2 separate regions of the Homo sapiens genome follow, and region 1 is linked to region 2. The links are contacts of gene promoters, found by promoter capture Hi-C in blood cells and fetal thymus (Javierre and others, 2016). All regions are on one chromosome and are shown on one strand. The core of a region is centred on a gene start or on the middle of the fragment in contact, and the rest is flanking DNA. Distances in the headings are between cores, read along the strand shown. Region 1 holds the start of DDX41 (DEAD-box helicase 41). Region 2 holds the start of NSD1 (nuclear receptor binding SET domain protein 1).

What was found. Contacts are between HindIII fragments. The CHiCAGO score rates a contact against its expected background, and 5 or more counts as called.
Region 1: the fragment with the promoter of DDX41 here is called in contact with a fragment that was not itself captured in region 2 in 1 of 17 cell types (fetal thymus); the score reaches 5.2 in fetal thymus.

What each region holds. Positions count from the first base shown.
Region 1 is chr5:177,514,264-177,521,563 of GRCh38, forward strand. It overlaps DDX41 (DEAD-box helicase 41), which reads right to left and starts at 2,698. Exons shown (of 17, transcript NM_016222.4): 1 at 2,656-2,698; 2 at 2,462-2,572; 3 at 2,025-2,184; 4 at 1,856-1,930; 5 at 1,666-1,726; 6 at 1,422-1,558; 7 at 923-995; 8 at 653-806; 9 at 438-574. The coding sequence starts at 2,682. FAM193B (family with sequence similarity 193 member B) reads right to left here. Exons shown (of 9, transcript NM_001190946.3): 9 at 5,526-5,918. RefSeq lists enhancers at 1,940-2,764, 2,793-3,062. The HindIII fragment of the contact is 2,611 bases long and covers 1,228-3,838 here.
Region 2 is chr5:177,127,375-177,133,882 of GRCh38, forward strand. It overlaps NSD1 (nuclear receptor binding SET domain protein 1), which reads left to right and starts at 6,399. Exons shown (of 23, transcript NM_022455.5): 1 at 6,399-6,508. RefSeq lists enhancers at 2,091-2,140, 3,730-4,283, 5,390-5,941, 5,434-5,728, 5,942-6,495 and 1 more and a silencer at 5,765-6,434. The HindIII fragment of the contact is 669 bases long and covers 1,399-2,067 here.

The DNA of each region.
Region 1 (7,300 bases), core at 1,448-3,947, 390 kb after region 2:
GTGGTCTGCAGAGGACTGCACAGCACTGAAAGGACACAGGTGCCGCTGGGATCCAGCCCTACCCCAGTGCCTCAACCTCCTTGACTGACCACTGAATGACCCTGACCTTCCTGGGCCGTCCGCCTCTGTGCTTTCAGCCTGGACTGCCCCTCTTCCCAATTCAAATGTCACCTTCCCGGAAAAGCCTTCTCTGAGCTCCCACCTCCCAGATGTCCCCAGCAAGGTGGGCCATTCCATCTGCCGTGCTCCCACAGTACCTGGCCACATCCCTCTGTCCTCCCCCAACTAACCTCCCCATTAGACTGGGAGCTCCTTGAGGGTCGCACTCACAGCAGCCCTCTGTGAAGATCTGTGGAGTGGCTAAGGTAAAGGGTCCTTTAGCTTTTCCACAGACTCGCAGGTGGCAGAGGTGGGGGGCAGGGAGCGCCAGCACTCACTGTCGGATGGTCTCCATCTGCTCTTTCACGGACATGCCCCCAATGCAGAGGGCGCAGCGCAGGAGTGGTGAGCTGTCCTCCTGCAGCAGGCGGCAGTAGTACTCCAGGATGCCATGGGTCTGCCGGGCCAGCTCCCGCTGCAGGCAGAGGGACAAAGGCTGGCACCAGATGGCAGCCCCAATCTCTGGCCTGCCCTCCAGGCCAGCCTATCTTACCGAGGGGCAGATGATGAGTCCATAGGGCCCCTCGCGCTTTGAGAAGGGTAACCTCTTCTCTTGTTCCAGGCAGAACATGATGACGGGCAACGTGAACACCAGTGTCTTGCCTGAACCCGTGAAAGCGATGCCTATCATGTCACGGCCAGATAGACTGTTGGGAGAGGATGACCCGAGGGCCAATTTCAACAGAAGATGAAGGACACCTAGCCATTGCTCCTCCCTGTTCCAGCCCTCCTCAAGGACCCCAGGTCCACAGTCCACACTCACATGGTGGGGATGCCCTGGATCTGAATGGGTGTTGGGTGGTGAATGCCTTTCTTCTTCAGGCCTCTCAGGATGGCTATGAAAACCAACCGACATCGTCTTCATGACTCACAGGTACTTTCTCAGAGCCCCAAAGCCTGTAAAACTGGCACTACCCCTACAAGTTGCAGATGATGAAACTGAGGCTCAGAGAGAGAGAGAGAGAGTGGAAAAAAAAAAAGAAAAAAAGAGACTTGTCCAAGGCCCACAGGCTAGGTGCAGCCAGGATTTGTACCCAGTGTCTATGCCCAATGGCACTTTCCTCCTGAAGCTTTGTAACAGCAGAGAACAATGAACACGTACAGCTGAGGCAACAAGGAACCTAAAGAAACTCCTCCTCAAATCCCTCCAGCCCCAGTGACTGGATCCAATGCAGATGTGGCTGAGCTCAGTGGGAGCCAGGACATAACCTCACAGGCATTTGATTATAAAAGTGTGGTATCTCTCTCCAGCCCCTGACTACCTGCAGGAAACTTCATTTCCTTGAAGCTCTTGATGGGTGGTGGGATACCGTCTCCCTCCACCAGGATGTGGTATTTCTTCCGCACGCGCTCATGTCGCTCTTCAGACATGCTCAGAACATAACGGGGTGGAGTCCAGCTGTGGATGGGTAACAGGGATCAAGAGAGCCCTGGGAATAGCTGGCCTGGGAGCATCCCTGCATGTACCATCCTAAGCAAGGGCAACTGCAGACTGTACAGACATACCTGGTTTTGATGGGGTCATCATACGTAATGCCCTTAGCCATCTCCTTCACTGACATCAATGCTGAAGAGAGAGACATGGCTCAGGGCTGGCTCCTGCTTCTGAGAAGCCAGATCCCTTGAGATATAACATGCCTGGGGCTGGGAGGAGAAGACTCAGTCCACCTTCTCACTATCCTGGCTACAACCATACCTCGGCCCTCGGCAACACTCTCCAGGATCTTCTCTTCTTCCTTCAGCTGCTTCTCCTTGGCAGACTCTTTGCGCGCTGAGAAAAGAAGTGGAAGATGTCAGACAGATACCAAAACGGTGTACCAGGCTCAGCTTCTTCTTTCTCGCCCAGGCAGTGCTGCCCAGCCCACCTTCAGCCTTCTCTTTAAGGTGCTGGTGCTGATCCAGGAGGCTGACGTTGGACTGAGGGCCTAGCGGGATGTCGTCCTCATCTCCCCGGGGTTCACTACCGCTGTCCTGCTGCTCTTCCTCCGCAGCTCCCTTGCGTCTTCGCTGCAGCAGCTTCTGGAGCTGAGGTTCCACCCGGGATCCACAGATAGGATGGGCATGGAGTCCACAAGGTCAGCGTCAGGATCCTGGCTTTGGGGCGAGGATCCTGTGCCCGAGGCGCAAAGCTGCCCTACCCCTCAGATCAAGCCGTCGGTCCCTCGTTTGTCTGGGGGCCGCGCCCTGGTGTACTGAAGCTCACTCCTCAGACTGCCCTCCTCCCCACGGAGGCCGAGGCCACGCCCGCCCCCTGCGACCCCGCGGTCACGGCCCCATCCCTCCCCGGACGCGTGCCCCTCACCAGTAGCTGCCGGCGCTGCCGTAACGGCACATAGGGCACGTAGTCCTCGTCGTCCTCATCTTCCGCCTCGGAGCGGCTTCCTCCGGCAGGCACCTCGTCGGTGCGAGCCCGCTGCAAGCACACGCCAGTCAGGCACGGCCTGCTCCCCTCTTCACGCCCGCTCCCACACGCGCGGGGTCTCGCCTCTCTCCTACCTTCCGTTCGGGTTCCGACTCCTCCATTCTTTGCTGCACGCATGCGCGCCACGGCGAAACCCCGCCTCATCCTTGCGTGAGACCCAATCCGATGTGAAGAGGCGAACGACGGCGCGTAGGAACGACCTCGGAGTTCCGGATCGCGCAGAGGGACAAATTTGTTCCGGAGATACTATCGCACGGCGAGGCATGGACGCTTTCATGGGTGGTTACGCGACAGTTGCCAGGACCGAGGGCGAAACCGGCTGCAAGGCATTGTGGGACATTGGAGGACTTGGAATATGCGCTAGAAGGCTCAATCCAAGCCCATTGGAAGAGGAAGACGTACGCAGCGGAGACAGCTGATCCGGAGTCGGGGCGGCCTGCCAGGTGCCCAACCTCTCCCAGAGCATGGCGTCTTGGGCACGCCCCTGCCGGCGGACAGTGCGTCCTCTAGGGCCGGGAGCTGCGGGCCGAGTTCGCGTGGGCCCTGCGCTTTCATCCCTGCCGGGGACGCCGGGGTTGCGGGATAAACCGCTCGACACACCCTGCCTCCCTGACTGCGCCTGTGTGACACATACGTTCACTGGTGGGGCACGCATCAGATACGGATGGCAGTGGTTTTGAAGTGGGAGGCCCTGTATAAATGTAAACGGTTATTACTGTAAATGCTCTAACAGAGCTGCCTGGGGGGCGCTTCCAGGGAAGCGTGGCAATCTCAGGCCGGGAGAGGAGAGGCGTCCTGGGCCAGGGCGCTGCAGGAATACAGGTCTGGCGATGTGCAAGTACACAGATTCACCAGGCAACAGCATTGCGGCAAGGGTGGGATGGGGAAGCCAGACCTAAGGCCAGAAAAGGAGATTGCGACCAGAGCATGCCTGCTGTGACTGTCAGAGTAAGTGGTTTCAACTTTATTAGAGACTTCTAAGGAATGACTTGGTCAGCTCTGTGCTTTCTTGCCTTCAAGAGTGTGTGCTGGGCGCTGGCACTGCGCTCAAGCAGATGATAATCAAGACACATACCTGGTGTGCGAGGAGCTTATGTAGATTGAGACTAGAAATATAGACAGATAACTGGTCTTAAAGAGAAAGATCCTAAGACAAGGTACCGCTTTTCGAAGTGTCATAGTTTTCACAGTACAATGGCCTCTTAGCTGGGATGTGAAGGATACACAGGAATTCATGAAGTCTTCTTTAGTAAAGAAAGCTTAGGCTGGGCACAGTGGCTCATTCCTGTAATCCCAGCTCTCTGGGAGGCCAAGGCAGGAGGATCGCTTGAAGCCAGGAGTTCAAGACCAGCTTGGACAACATAGCAAGACCCCATCTCTATAAAAAAAATAAGCTGGTGCTTACTGCCAGTCCCATGGTGGGTCTCAACCTGGGAGGGATGGAGGAGGACATGGTTTCTGGTCCTGCTCACAACACCCAAATACATGGCAATCTCAGGCCGGGAGAGGAGAGGCGTCCTGGGCCAGGGCGCTGCAGGAATACAGGTCTGGCGATGTGCAAGTACACAGATTCACTAGGCAACAGCATTGCGGCAAGGGTGGGATGGGGAAGCCAGACCTAAGGCCAGAAAAGGAGATTGCGACCAGAGCATGCCTGCTGTGACTGTCAGAGTAAGTGGTTTCAACTTTATTAGAGACTTCTAAGGAATGACTTGGTCAGCTCTGTGCTTTCTTGCCTTCAAGAGTGTGTGCTGGGCGCTGGCACTGCGCTCAAGCAGATGATAATCAAGACACATACCTGGTGTGCGAGGAGCTTATGTAGATTGAGACTAGAAATATAGACAGATAACTGGTCTTAAAGAGAAAGATCCTAAGACAAGGTACCGCTTTTCGAAGTGTCATAGTTTTCACAGTACAATGGCCTCTTAGCTGGGATGTGAAGGATACACAGGAATTCATGAAGTCTTCTTTAGTAAAGAAAGCTTAGGCTGGGCACAGTGGCTCATTCCTGTAATCCCAGCTCTCTGGGAGGCCAAGGCAGGAGGATCGCTTGAAGCCAGGAGTTCAAGACCAGCTTGGACAACATAGCAAGACCCCATCTCTATAAAAAAAATAAGCTGGTGCTTACTGCCAGTCCCATGGTGGGTCTCAACCTGGGAGGGATGGAGGACATGGTTTCTGGTCCTGCTCACAACACCCAAATACATGGCTCTTAGTGACCCTGTTAGCTCCCCACATAACCTCGAGTTGGTTTTAGGAGCGAAAACTAAATTTGGGGCATGGAGTTTGGACACAAGTGTGTCAGGGGCATTTTGGGAAAACTCATTGTATTAAAATCCAAATTTACAAACCAGATCCATTTCGGGGGATGAGGTAGTTTGCTTGACTTTACAGAAGAGTTCATTATCCTCTTAACTCTCAAGCCCTCAGCTACATGTCCCACCCCCACTGGAAAATCAGATCTAATTTATAAAAAACTCAATTTACCCCCAACTTCCCCTGACTGTGAAGTCAGTGTGAGGGGCCTCGATGGCCCAGGCTACAGATCCATGAAGGCCTCAGGGTCTTTCCTAGACCTCTTCTCACATCCAGATGCACAGAGACCATCTTCAACCCCTCCAACTCACCCATCTTGCAAAGAGGGAAACAGGAAAGAGTGGGGAAGGGGCTGCCCCAGGCTCACATACCAGAGACCTCCCAAAAGGAGAAAAGGGCACAGATGCCATAATCATACCAGTCTGCGCTCAATGCTAATCAGCCAGACTAAGTTGAGCTGAGTCACTTTCCTATCGGCTTTAGTTTCCTCACCTGTAAAATGGGACAATAGCACCAAACTGCTGATGCATGGTGCATGCTAGGGTTAGTGACTAAGGGAGAGCCCATGCTTCTGAGCACACCCTCAACTCCCTCCCCGCCCAGACCCACAAATCACCAACATGCCAACTCTGTGTCCAAATGTTGCTTTATCTTTCGGCACGAAAGATCTTCACAGTATCAAAAGTAAAGAATTGGAAAAAAACAAAATAAAAACAAAAACAAAAAAACCAAACACAAAGAGAGCAGTGTTGGGCCAGCAGTACCATCAGCCCTGGCCCTTAGGCCAGCCCAGTCCACGGGCTCTGAGTGTGGAGGCTGCGTAGCACCAGGAAGCGGCTCTGCTGAGGTCAAGGGGCCCCAGCACAGTGTGGCATCCGTTCAGCTTTTGGTTGGTCCAGGATGGTGGGGAGCACAGAGGGTCTTGGACGGGTAGGTGGGGCACACGGAGGGAAAAATTATACGCCTTCAGCTGGCAGTCAGGGCCTCAGGACGCCCTGAAGCAGCTCAGCCTGGGCAGGGCCTGAGAAAGAAAAAAAGAGCAGAATCACAGTAAGCAATGAGCCATGCTCCAGCCTCCCCATGCCACTTGGGTACCCATGGGTCTCTGGTAGCAGAAACAGCTGGCTGCTATTTTTGTTCCCTGGGCTGAAAATGTTGAAGATTCCCTGGATCACCTGTAGCAGAGGATGCAGGTTAACGGGTTGGGAGACAGAGCCCCAGTCCCAGGATCCTGACAAGGTGGGGGACAATCCTTGAGTAGATCCAGCCTTTGGCACTTGCTGTCCATCAGCAGGGGCTGGGAGGCCAGCTGTGCAGCTGTGCTCCTGCCTCTGACTGTAGGTGCACAGCCCGGGGGAGGGTGAAGAGGCTCAAAGGAGAGCGCTTACTAGGGGGTGGGGAGAGGGGCATCTTCTATCTTGGAAAAGAGGCCAGACCAGGTGAAAAAGGGTCAAGAGGAGGCAGTGGAAGGAGACAGTTGCATTTGATTTCTTGAATGACAGAACTGGGCTTGTGGGAGGAAATGCGATCTCTTTTCTCTCAGTAGGGATAACAGATGAAGTGCCTGGGGTTCCTGCTACTCCTGGTTCCCATGGAGGTGGAGAAGAGGCAGGAGGCCACCTTGGATCTGGAAGATACTTCTGGGGCTTGTGGGCATCTCAGTTTGGCAAAGGGGGCTGACTGAGCCCAACCCCTTCAGAGGAGAGGAGGACTAAAGTGAGTGTAAAGAAGACAGTCTGGACTCTGGGGCAGCACAAGGGTCACAGGGAGCCCCAGCTCTGAAGGCTGTCCTGGCTGCAGGCTCTCTGAGCTGCCCCTGGGGAGCTGAGGGTCCAGGAAGTTTGCTGCTTAGGCCCAGAGAGGAGCTGGCCTGGCACTGGAAAGAGGAGAAAGACAGGTGGGGCCATCATGGGGGAAGTGAGTTGTTTGTGAGCTCAGTCTGCCTGCCCCAGCCTTCCAGTCTCCAGGACAGCTGTGTGGTTGCCAGCCGGAAAAGGCCTGACCCCAGGGACACAGCTGAGGGTTGAGATATGAAACTGCAGAGCCACTCAGCCCCCAGCCCAAGGTCTGCCTGCTAGCTGCCCTTCTCTTCATCAATAGGGTTCCAGGCCCAGTGCCTTCTCCAGTTGTCTGTTCCCAGTCCAGATCATCATCTGGTACATCATTGTTTCAGACAAAAGGACCTGTGTGGGTGGCTGGGAGGGGATGCCAATGCCATCTGGCACCCAGGTCTCTTCCTCTAGGAGGCACTGTGGCTACCAATATCCTCATGGAGCTTGCCCTGCTTTGGGTAGCCCCCATCAACTCCTCCATGCCTAAATGACCCACGATGTTCACTCAGGGCTGGCCCCTTCTTATACTGCTTCAGCTGGGAAGTACCTTGGTAGCCTACACTGAGGAGCC
Region 2 (6,508 bases), core at 483-2,982:
ATGGCGGGATCTCAGCTTACTGCAACTTCCACCTGCCAGGTTCAAGCGATTCTCCTGCCTCAGCCTCCCTTGTAGCTGGGATTACAGGCACGTGCCACCACGCCCAGCTAATCCTTTGTATCTTTAGTAGAGACGGGGTTTCACCATGTTGGCCAGGCTGTTCTCGAACCCCTGACCTTGTGATCCGCCCTCCTCGGCCTCCCAAAGTGCTGGGATTACAGGCATGAGCCACTGAGCCTGGTCATAAGGTCTCTTATACTTTTATTTATTTATTTATTGGAGCCAGAGTCTCACTCTGTCACCCAGGCTGAAGTGCAATGGCATGAACATGGCTCACTGCAGCCTCCACATCCTGGGCTCAAGCGATCCTCCCACCTCAGCCTGCCAAGTAGCTGGGACTATGGGTGCGAATCATACACCACCATGCCAGGATAATTTGTTTGTTTGTTTGTTTGTTTTTTTAAATGGAGTTTCGCCTTGTGGACCAGGGTGGAGTGAAATGGCGCGATCTCAGCTCACTGCAACCTCAGCCTCTTGGGTTCAAGCGATTCTCCTGCCTCAGCCCCCCGAATAGCTGGGATTACAGGTGTGTGCCACCACATCCGGCTAATTTTGTATTTTTAGTAGAGACGGGGTTTCACCACATTGGTCAGGCTGGTCTCAAACTCCTGACCTCATGTGACCCACCTGCCTTGGCCTCCCAAAGTGCTGGGATTACAGATGTGAGCCACAGCGCCTGGCCTACTTTTTGTATTTTTTGTAGAGACAAGGTTTAGCCATATTGCCCAGGCTGGTCTTGAACTCCTGGGCTCAAGCGATCCGTCTGCCTCAGCCTTCCAAAGTGCTGGGACTAAAGGCGTGCACCACTGTACCTGGCCTCTTATGCTTTGTAAAGCATTGTCTGGCACCAAAGGCTGTTTGTTCCTCAAACATCTTGAATCCTTTTTGGGAGGATCTGAGTTTTGTACAACTCATTTGGTCCGTTATTGAAACCACAATTCTGTCTGATGGAGACACAGGCTTGGAGAGGAGAGGAGGGGATAGATCAGGCATCATGAAATGTTTCTGGAGCACTCACTCTGAGCTTCACGGTCTGGGCTTGTTCACTGGAGGTCAGAGAGTATATGTCCTTAGTCTTGTTGGAAGTGACTGTCCAACTGGATGAGACCAGATTTAGAAGCCATTAGTTACTACCAGGACTCAGGGAAAATGGCTGCCTGTAGGGGTGGGAAGACTACCAGGAGGAGGAGTCTTCTAAACAGGATGAATGGAGTCTGCCCAGGGGAAAAGGCAGAGTGACTGGCATGAGCATAGGCTGGACAGGATGTGGCTTGTCCTGGCACTGGGCAGTTGGGGGAAGTGAGAGCAGGAGGGCAGGGATTAGTGGCCACCATACCAAGCTTCAGAAGGAGGTTTAAGAAGAAGAAAACTTAAAGGTGGATGCTTGAGTCCTTCGGGCTGGGGCTGGGCGTACAGGCTCAGGTTAGCGACAGGACCTGGTATTTGGGGCAGGAAGGAGACTGCTGGAGGGCTGCCTGGTCTCAGATGTGGTCAGGCCTTCCTTGATCTTAAGTTGAAAACTGATTCAATTTTGGGGAAATCCGTGGGTGGGGAGAGGAAGGAAACAGCTCCTAGACCCATCAGAAGGCATGGTCCTGGTGTTCACCAGCTATGTTCAGGATTAATTACCAAAGGCCTCCATGCCTCTCCCAAGACCTAACTGTTTAGTCAGAAGGCAGATGCTGTTCCTGTTCAGTGGGAACAAGGAGCTGGAACTAGGATGGGAGTTTGTCTCTGGGCAAGTCATGCTTCCTTTCTAGAAGATGGGGATAACAATAATACCCATCTCAGAGGAGTAAATGAGTATCCTGCAGGGTAGCTGGAACAGAGGAGGATAAGCTACAACTGTTATTGTAACAACAGGCAGAGCCCTTGCTGGAGTTGTGTTTCTAGGGGAGGAACCAGTGTCTTCTGGACACAGAAGAGTGAGCTTTCTACTGCTCAGATGCCATCACGTCATTATCCTCCTCCCTCACCTTCCATGGCTGCTTACTGCCTTCCAGATAAAGCTTCAACTCTTTAACTTAACCAACCAAGCCCTGAAGGGTGAGGCTCTGTGTCTGCCCCATCCTTGGTTGAGCCTCTTTCTGCACTCATTACCTCTGCCCCGGCACATACACTAGACATGCTTGTTGTGGTCAGTTCCTCTGAAGCCTGGTGTTTCTCTGGACTCTGCTGGAATCTCTGCCTCTTCCCCTTCTTGCCTGGCTATTCCTGAATATCCTCCAGGACTCTCTCTGGATGTTGCTTCCTCAAGGATACCCCTGAGTTAGTTTCAAGGGCATTCTCAGCTTCTCCAGCACCCTTGGCTTCTCTCTCAGTACTCAGTTCTCTGCCTTGTTATTACCTGTCTGCTTTTTCCACAAGGCTGTGACGGGGAGCCCCAAAATATTTATGGAATTAATGAATGAAAAGGGGTGGTTCTAAGAAAAAAGAGATCACTGTACATTGGCCAAATGTCCCAACAGGTATCTATTATATCTCACCAGGGTAGGAATTATCAGTAACCAAGATTTACAGATGAGGAAACTCAGCCCAAGGTAGAGTCCCTCTGCCTGTCATTCAAATTTCTGGGCACCTGTGTGTAAGCACCATGCTGGGCTTTTCACAGGCAGTATGTGTAGGGTGGACAGGCTGAGAGCAAGCACGTGAGGCCCATCATACCAGGTGAGAGTTAAGGTGCTGACACCTTGCATGAGGGCTTAGTCTCTTGGACCTCAATTCTTCGTAGGGCTGGTGAAGGGTCATAGGAACGACTGTATGTGAAGTGCCCAGGACAGTGTCCAGTACACTAGTACAGACCCAGCAAGTGTTTACTGATTCTTATCTCAGTCCTAAGGATGGGAGTCACAGGCCCAGAAAAGGTCCCTGGATTGAGACAACCAGCCAGAGGAGAGCTGAGTGTACATCCCAGGCCCCCACCCTACAGGGACACAGTCCTCTCCCTTCTGCCCCCACTCAAGGAGTCAGTGTCCTTGTGAGAATCTATGGCGCTGTGGATCTTCTCAACCTAGTGCTGGCACACATGAGATGCTTGGCCAGGGCCTGCCAGATGGGGAGGCTGGAGATGGGTCGGCTGTGATTGAGACCTCTGTGGCCAAGTTTTACTCTAAGAGGCAGGTAAGGCCCTCAGGGGTTATCCCAGAGAAGTCTGAGAGGTTTTCCCTGGGGTCCTGGTCTTCTCCCCCAGACCTGTCAGCAAGCAGTTCATCCCCAGCTGCCAATCTCCTTTTGGCCCTCAGTCTTCCAGAGGAGCTGGGAGGTGGGAGAGAGGGGTTCTGCAGGGCAGTGTTGTTCAGAGGTGAGCTTTGGAAGAAACTGTTGTCTCAACCCTATTTTCACACCATAGCACCTTTATTTAACTGTCTTTTCCCGAGGCCAGGATCTCATCTTTTGTTTCCCCAGCACTCAGCACACTGCCTGGAATGCAGGAAATGGTTGCTGAATGAAGCGATGAATTACATTTCAGCACTCATCAAGTGCTCAGCCTATAACTAAGTCTGAGTGTAGGCTGCTAACACTTAGACCTTTACCTTACAGAATCTTCGCAGCCAGTGCTGTGCATTGGAAGTTGCAGATGGGGAAACTGAGGCTCAGGACTGTTAAGTGACTAGTTCAAGGCAGGTCTCAGGCCCTCAGGATGGTTAGTGGCAAAGTAAAGGACTGGGAGGAGCATTGATGAATTGGGGCAATTGGCAGAGGAGTAACTGTCAGTCAAAATGATTGGCTCAAATTATTAGGTGTGAAGAAGGAACCAGTCAGAGCTTGCCTGTTGAGTCGAATTGCCCAGATGGGATTAGCAGGGTGAGTGACCCTAGCAGAACAAAGAGCTGGCCCTTGTAGGTATAGACTCGACTTTTCTCTGGTTGGTCCCAACACATAGACAACTACCAACCTGACTTTGCACCTGAGAATCTTCAGGGTACCTCAGACTCTTCAACAGAAGGAGCCTCCCTGAGGTCACAGCCCTCTCATCAGTCCCGTTCCAGTGGGCACTTTCCCTCTAACAAAGCCCACTTGCTGTCTTGGCAGGGTCTGCATCCGGCACTTGCAGACATGTGCTAAGGGCCTGTTGACTTGGGAGCCTCCATCACTGGACTGTGGGCCTTGGAGAGCAAAAGGGTAAGAGCATCTCGAGCTCCACGCCTGCTGGGCCAGTCGCTGGCTGAAGGCAGGGGAAGGATGGAGTTTAGCTGGCCAGCACTAATGTCACACAGGGCAACGCCAAAAATGGCCTTTCTCCCAGGTGGGCTCAAAGTTAACAGAAGGCAGTGAGTAAACAGTCCACTGGGGCAATAACTATGCACATTTACTAAGCCATGGGAAGAATAGTAGTCACGTGGCCCTCGAGGGCGGTGCCCTCAGCTTGAGATGGAGTTAACTCCAAATCTAATCACAGAAGGCTTTCTGGAGGAGGCGGAATTTTTATGGCGGCCGGATCCGGCTTTCTCTGAACAGCGAGAAGGCGCTTAGCGCCCTAGGGACCAGGTAACTCCTGAGGTGAGCTTCTTGGTGGGGATCAAGCCCAGGGGGCGACGGAGTCCGGGCTGGGGGAAGGGCCCGAGGGGCTGGAGTCGCAAGTTCAGGCCCAGCTTGGGCTCCCTGTCCCGCCCTTCCGCTGTCTTGGGGGATTGGACGCCACGCGGTCGTGCTAGATTCGGTGCTGCGGGCCCGGTGCAGGATGCAGGCCGTGAGGCCCCAGGCCGAGGGCTGCGCCAGCGGGCTTGTCCCGGCCAGCCGGGCGGTCCCGTGTCCCGGCGCAGCTCCGCTGGGGTCCAGATGCCCGGCCCTCAGGGGCGAGGCGCGCACTCCCCGGGGAACCGGGCTGCGGAGCAGGCGGCCCGCTCTGGGCGGCGGTGGCACGAGAGGGCCATCTGCCTGGGTGCCGAGAACTGCAGCGTCCGCGGTGCGAGGCGCGGCCCGTCCCGTCCCGGCCCCCAGCCCGGCGCGCACGCACATACCCACGCCGGCCGGCGCCCGCTGCCCGAGCCCCCGTGCCAGGCCCAGACCTTGACTAGGCGCGGGAGGCGGTGCAGGGACTAGAGGACCCCCTCCCCCGGCGTTCCCCTCGCCCCGCCCGAGGCTGCGAGGACCCCTGGGCTCGGGGGTGGTGAGGGAGCTTCGTCCCGGCTGGGCCCGGGCTGGGGACTCGGCCTCCCTGGGCGGGGGCCGCACGGCTGCAGGCCGAGGTGCGGACGCGCTGTCAGGCTGCAGCCCGGCTCGGTGCCGGGGGTGGGCTCAGCGCTGGGGTCGCCTGGCTTCGTTCCCCCGCGGAGGCCACGGCCGGGCGAGCAGTGCCGGGGCGGGTAACCCGACCCGGCTCCCCAGAGCCGCTCACCCCGCACGGCCCGGCAAGGGGAGGGAGAGGGATGGGGGGAGGGGGAAGGGAAGGGGTGGTGGGTGAGGGGCTGTGGGCACCGCAGGGCCGAGTCCCCGGCCCGTCTGCGCTGCTGTAGGGCGGCTGCCCGCGGCACCCGGGACGATCCAGCCTCTGCCTCGCGGGCGTCGAGCCTGAGACAGGAGGGAGCCCTGGGGCTGCACAGGCTTGGCTCAGGGAGGCAGACCCGAGCTGCTGCCTCCATTTTGTTTCCTGCTCAGCTTGGTCTGTGGTGGTGGTGGTGGTGGTGGTGTGGGTTTGGGGTGCGGCCGGGTAGGGGGTTCGCCTGCGGCCGCGTCTGCTCGGGGCCTGAGGCCTCGAAGACCCCAGCCCAAGCCCCCAGGTGAGCCCTGCGGCAGGAGGGGGGTTGCCTTGGCCTCGGGCCGAACCCAGCGGGCTGAGGGCAGGTGCCCAGTGGATGGGGAGCCTGGGCTGTAACCTAAGATGGAGGCCGGGACTGACGCGGGCCCGAGCAGGGCTGGCGGGACGATCGGACAGGCCTCAGCCGCGCCAGGTGCCGCCTGGGTTGGGGTTCGAGACGCGTAGGGTGCGGGAGCCGTGTGCGGCCCGAGGCCAGCGCCGTGCCCCGAGGTAGGTGAGGGGATCGGAATGCCACCCACGACGCCCGCAGGCCCCGACACTCCAAGGAGGCGCGCGAGGCCCCTGGGGAGCCCGCCTCAGGCCCCGCCCGGGCAGCCGGGCCGGCCCGTAGGCCCCGGCCGCGAGCGGGCGCGCAGGGGGAGGGGAGGGGGCGGCAGCGGCAGCTCCGCTGATTGGGCGGCGCTCTCACAAGCCCGACTTCACCCGCCCTGAACCCCGAAGAGTGAGAGAAGGGAACGCGCGCGCTCGGTGGGGGAAGGGGTGCGCGCGCACTCGGGGCCCAGCCGCACGCGGGCCGGCGCGAGGCGCTCGGTCGCACGCGCGGCCGCGGGGGCGCGCGCGGTGGGGGTGTGAGGAGGAGGAGGCGGCGGCGGAATAGGCCGGGGCAGGTCGCGCTCGCTGCCTTCTCCCCTGAAGAGAGACGCGGGGGGAGGGGGGTGCGGCGAGCGGCCCCGCTCTCTCCCCACCGCT